Regions from separate parts of the Homo sapiens genome. Here region 2 is linked to region 1. The links are contacts of gene promoters, found by promoter capture Hi-C in blood cells and fetal thymus (Javierre and others, 2016). All regions are on one chromosome and are shown on one strand. Each heading gives the region's core, a stretch centred on a gene start or on the middle of the fragment in contact. The rest is flanking DNA. Distances are from core to core; before and after follow the strand shown. Region 1 holds the start of MRGPRF (MAS related GPR family member F). Region 2 has its middle 67 kb from the start of LINC01488.

Region 1 (2,700 bases), core at 67-2,566:
CCCACTTCACACAATTCCTTTTAAGTGTCCAAACGCAATTACACTTGGAACTCGCCGGGATTCAGCCTCCCCCGGCCTCCCCATGTAAACAAGCGTTCCAGCTGGGCCCCAGCTGGCTGCCCTGGAGAGGAGGGGACGGGTCACCACCCTGCCTGCTGCCTCCAGCCTCTCTCTCAGCCTCAGGCATGGCCCGTGAGCCTCCAGGATCCCAGAGTCCCTCCTCACCCCATCCCTGAAAAACGGACCCCAGGAGGCCAGCTGAGCCGCGCAGGGAGCAGTGCGAGAGTCCCTCTTCCACGCTGAGGTTCGCACATGGCCAGGACAAGCAGGAGGCAGGCAGCTCCCAGCGCAGGTGCAGGGGCAGCTCCGCTTCTCATTTCCCTTCAAGATGCCCACAGAGGCACATCTCTCCCAGTCTGGGCACTACACTCCTGCAGGGAAAGTTCAGAATTCCCTCGGGCTTCCTGGACCCTGAGAAAGTTGGCCCAGGGTAGGAGGGGAGCCTTCTCATCACCCCCTCCTCCTGGCCACCCTGCTGGCTCCCGCACCCCCGACTCTGCACCCCCACCCCTACCAATGCTCAGTGCCCCAGGCATGAACGCGTTCCAGGACCCCCCCCCACCGCCCGCCTCCAGGGGCTCAATGGGGAAGGGGGACCTGACTCATCCTCCCGCTGAGCAGCGCAGGCACCAGGCACCACAGCCCGCCAATTTCCAGCTTGCTTGCCGAGCGCCGTGATTTTCCACTTGCGCCATCTGATTGCTATTAGGGCTGGGGAAAAGGGAATTCCTGGTTCCATAAGCCCCCAGGGGGCCCAGGCCGAGTCCGGGGTGGGAAGGGGGAGGGGTGCCGCTTGGGCGGTGCTGACCACCTCTGCCAGTTCTGCACTGCCCCTCCATGGAGCCCTCGCCCTGCTGCCCCCCACTGCTCTGTATCAGCCCCTGAGTAAATTAAAACAACGGGGTGGGGACTAGCCCCTCCTGGGCCAGCCTGCCCCGAAATGCCCACTGGGGGCAGACCAAAGACGCCAGGCAAGTGTACAGCCGGTGCTCCCTCTCCTGGGCAGCCCTGCCGAGCAGCAGAATGTGAGGGAGATGAACAGCTGGACTCGGGCTGCAGTGCTCGGGCCAACGTGACGTCACCAGGCGGAGAGATGAGTTCCCGGTGGGGCTCTGGGGGGGGCTCCTGAGCGGGGCATTCCTTCCTGAAGCCTCATCCCCGCTCAGCCCTGCTCAGCCCCTCCTCCTACTCCCCTCCCCCTCCCCCTCCTGCCGGGCCAGGAATTGGGTTTGGGGCGGGTTCTGCTTCCAAAGCCATCTCTTCCAGCAGGAGAGGGCTCTACTCTGAGCTCCTATTTTCCAAGGCTCCGGGCCGCGCTCGGCGCTGGCCTGCTGCCCCGGCGGGTCCGCCGGCCGGAGGCGGGAGTCACAGGAAGAGCCCTCCACAAAAGGAGGCCTCGGCGGATCAGGACAGCTGCAGGTAGCTCCAGGGGCCCAGGGTCCAGGGGAGGGTGTTCCAACAACCGGGGCTGCAGGGTGAGGGCCAGGCAGGGAAGGAAAATGACGCGGGCACTGTAGGGGCAGAGAGGTGGACGCTGTCGGGGCAGGCAGCTCCCAGAAATCCTAAGGCCCCAGGCAGGGAGCCCTGAGACCCCAGAGAGGCTGTCACTCACCGGAGAAGCTCCCCTGCCACTCCTGAGGCTCCAGGGTTCCAGGGCCATGGAGGAACTTTAAAAGTCCCCCTCCCGTGGCAGGACCTGACCCCTCTCAGCTGGCCTCACCCCCAGCCCCACCGTCCAGCTCCTGCTCTGTGCTGCTGGGGGTGAGGGCTCCCTCTCGGTCCCTCCCCCAGCCTCACTGGCCATTCAAGCATGCATTCTAGAGGGGCTGGAACGGAACACCCAGCAGGCAGTGTCCCACACACAGGGAGATGGCTCCCCCTGCTCTCAGCCCTGGGGTGCACATGGGGTGTCCGTGTGGGCAGCCACAGGATGTTGGGCAACTGCAGTCCCACCTTCTCCCAGGCCTGCGGCCTGATGAAGCTGTTGGCCTTGGATGGAGGCGGCTCCTGGAATGATCTGCAAGGTCTCAGTCCCCCCAGACAAGCCTCTTCAATCCAAGCTGTTAAGCAGGGGACTCCAGACCCGGAGTGAGGAAAACAGAGGCTCTGTGTCTGGGGGAGCGAGACAGGCCCCTCTGATGGCGGCACAAGCGGCTAAGGAGAGGGGCTGGGACAGCCCCAGCGGCGTCGGGGCTGGGTCATGGTGGGATGGAGTGAAGGGAGAGGAGGAGCTTCCTGCGGGCAAGGCTGCAGGAGGCTGACAGGTGGCCAGGCCACCCTTGGGCTTGCTCCGAGGGGAGGGTCAGGTGTGAGCTGTGCTGGCAGCTTTTTGGGTCAGCTTCAGTGGAAACTAGTTCTGTCATAGCAGCCCAGATCCCACCCAGAGGAACACACATACACATGTACTGACACGCACGCCCCATCCACGTGTCACACACATGTCCTTTAATATGGCCCATCTGGGGTCTGCTGGCTTCTAGATCTTTCTGTGCATGCGTGAAATCGCTTTTCAGGTTGTCCCTGGCAGGACAAGGACAAATGCACAGGGACACCCACATAATGGAGGGACGCAGATGGTAGAGAGGGGAGCTGGGGGCCCCCACTGCATGCCCACCTGCAGCGTAGGGGGGAGCCCAGCCC
Region 2 (2,700 bases), core at 186-2,685, 540 kb before region 1:
CAAACAAAAAGAGGCCAGGTGCAGTGGCTCATACCTGTAATCCCAGCACTCTGGGAGGCCGAGGTGGATAATGAGGTCAGGAGTTCGAGACCAGCCTGACCAACATGGTGAAACCCCATCTCTACTAAAAATACAAAAATTAGCTGGGTATGGTGGCAGGTGCCTGTAATTCCAGCTACTCAGGAGACTGAGGCAAGAGAATTGCTTGAACCCAGAAAGTGGAGGTTGCAGTGAGCTGAGATTGTGCCATTGCACTCCAGCCTGGTCAATAGAGCGAGACTCCATCTCGAAATTAAAAAAAAAAAAATCACTCCAGTTGTGCATTGTTAGTGTATAGAAATAAGATTAATTTTTGTGTGGTGATCTTCTATCTTAGGACCTTGAAAACCTGCTTGTTAGTTCCAGGAGTCTTTTTTTAAAAAAATATAGGCTTCTTGGGATTTTCAGTGTGGTTATGTTGCCTGAGGACAGGGACAGTTTTATTTCTTTCCAATCTGCAAGGCTTTCATTTCTTTTTTCTTGTCTTATTTTATTGGCTAAGATTTCTACTATGATATTGAATAGAATGGTGAGAGTGTCTATGCTTGCCTTGTTCCCAATCTTTGGGGGAAAGTCTTTACTTATTAAGCATGATGCTAGATATAGGATTTTTGTTGATGTCCTTTATCAGATGGAAGAAGTTCCCTTCTATCGGTATTTTGCTGAGAACTTTATCATGAATGGATGCTTCATTTTGTTAAATGCTTTTTCTGTGTCTGTTGAAATGATCATATGTTTTTTCTTTAGGTTATTGATAAGGTGGATTCCACTGATGGATATTTGAGTACTGAACCATCCTTGCCTTCTGAGAATAAACCCCACTGGGTGGTGGTGTATTTCATATAATGCTGGACTTTATTTACGGATATTTTGCTGAGGACTTCTGTGTTTGTGTTTATGTAGGAATCTGGTCTGTAGTTTTCCTTTTTGGTACAGTCTTTTTCTAGTTTTGAGGCAATGCTCATATAATGTGTCATGAAGTAGTCTTTAATCTTTTATTTTCTGGGTAACAATCAATGTTATTTCTTCTTTCAATGTTTGGTAGAATTAGCCAGTGAAACCATGTGGGACTGGATATTTATTTTTTGAAAACAAATAGAAAACTATGCATTAAACGTGTTTAATAGTTATAGGAGTATTCAAGTTATTTATTTAATCTTGGATGAATTTTGGTAGTTTGTGTCCAAGAAATTCATTCATTTTGTCTAAGATGTAGAATTTAGGTGCACAGAATTGTTCATAGTATTCCTTTCAATCATTATTGACACCTGTGAGGTATTCTTTTCTCTTTGTTAGTTTGCTAAAGCTTCATCAATTTTATCGATCTTTTTAAAGAGCCATATTTTGGTTTTATTGATTTTTCTCTTTGGTTTTTCTGATTTCAATGTCATTGATTTCTGTTCTTGTCTTTATTATTTCCTTCCTTCTGTTTACTTTGGATTTATTTTGCTCTTCCTTTTCTAGTTTCTTAAGAATAAAAGCTTAGCTTATTGATTTGAGACGTTTCTTCTTTATAATAGCATTTAATACTATAAATTTCCCTCTAAGCCCTGCTGTAGCTGCTTTTCATACATTTTGACATGTTGTATTTTCATTTATGTTTAGTTCAAAATGTTTTGAAGTTTCTCTTGAGACTTTGAGTCATACATTATTTCAAAGTGTGGTGTTTAACTTCCAAGCGCTTGAATATTTTTCTCTGATTTTTCTGTTATTAATTTGTAGTTTAATTGCATTATAGGACATATTTTGTATAATTTAAATTCCCTTAACTTTGTTAATGTTTGTTTTATGACATAATATAGTCTGTCTTGCTGAATACTCCATGTGCACTTGAAAAATATGTTTTATGCTTTTTTGGGTAGAATGCTCTTTTTTTTTTTTTTTGAGGCAGGGTCTCACTCTGTTGAAGTTATGTGATCATAGCTCACTGCAGCCTCAAACTCTTGGGCTCAAGAGATCCACCCTCCTCAGCCCCCCAAAGTGCTGGGATTGCAGGCAAGAGCCACCACCCCTGGTTGGCAGAATGTTCTAAATGTCTCATAGATCCAGATGATAATAGTATTGTTAGGTTCTTCTCTATCCTTGATGATTTTCTATTAGTTCTGTTATTGAGGGAGGAGTGTTGAAGTTTCCAACTATTAACTATGGATTTATCTATTTCTTTTTTCAGTTCTGTCAGTCTGTAAGCTTTATGTCTTTGGAAGCTCTGCTCTTAGGTGATACACATTTGGGGTTTTTGTAGTGTCCGTAGTGAATTGATTCTTTTTTTCTTTTTTTTTTTTTTTGAGATGGAGTCTCGCTCTGTCGCCCAGGCTGGAGTGCAGTGGCGCCATCTCGGCTCACTGCAACCTCTGCCTTCCGGGTTCAAGCGATTCTCCTCCTCAGCCTCCTGAGTAGCTGGGATTACAGGTGGGCATGACCATGCCTGGCTAATTTTTGTATTTTTACTAGAGACGGGGTTTTACCATGTTGGTCAGGCTGGTCTCAATCTCTTGACCTCATGATCCACCTGCCTCGGCCTCCCAAAGTGCTGGGATTATAGGCATGAACCACCACGCCTGGCCTGATCCTTTTTAGCAGAATGTAATGCCCCTTTTTATGCTGGAGCTTTTCTTTGCTCCAAAGTTGACTTTGTCTGAAATTAATGTAGCTACTCAACAC

What was found. The method cuts DNA at HindIII sites, captures the fragments that hold promoters and counts their contacts. A CHiCAGO score of 5 or more calls a contact.
Region 2: a contact is called between a fragment that was not itself captured here and the fragment with the promoter of MRGPRF in region 1, in 1 of 17 cell types (naive CD4 T cells). The highest score is 5.2, in naive CD4 T cells.

Annotation. Positions count from the first base shown.
Region 1 is chr11:69,011,862-69,014,561 of GRCh38, reverse strand. MRGPRF (MAS related GPR family member F) reads left to right here and starts at 1,316. Exons shown (of 3, transcript NM_145015.5): 1 at 1,316-1,479. It overlaps MRGPRF-AS1 (MRGPRF antisense RNA 1), which reads right to left and starts at 2,208. Exons shown (of 6, transcript NR_120541.1): 1 at 2,014-2,208; 2 at 658-771; 3 at 246-431; 4 at 1-121. The HindIII fragment of the contact is 10,508 bases long and covers 1-2,700 here.
Region 2 is chr11:69,547,612-69,550,311 of GRCh38, reverse strand. No RefSeq gene overlaps it. Among named protein-coding and RNA genes, the nearest start is that of LINC01488, 67 kb to the right of the region's middle. The HindIII fragment of the contact is 175 bases long and covers 1,348-1,522 here.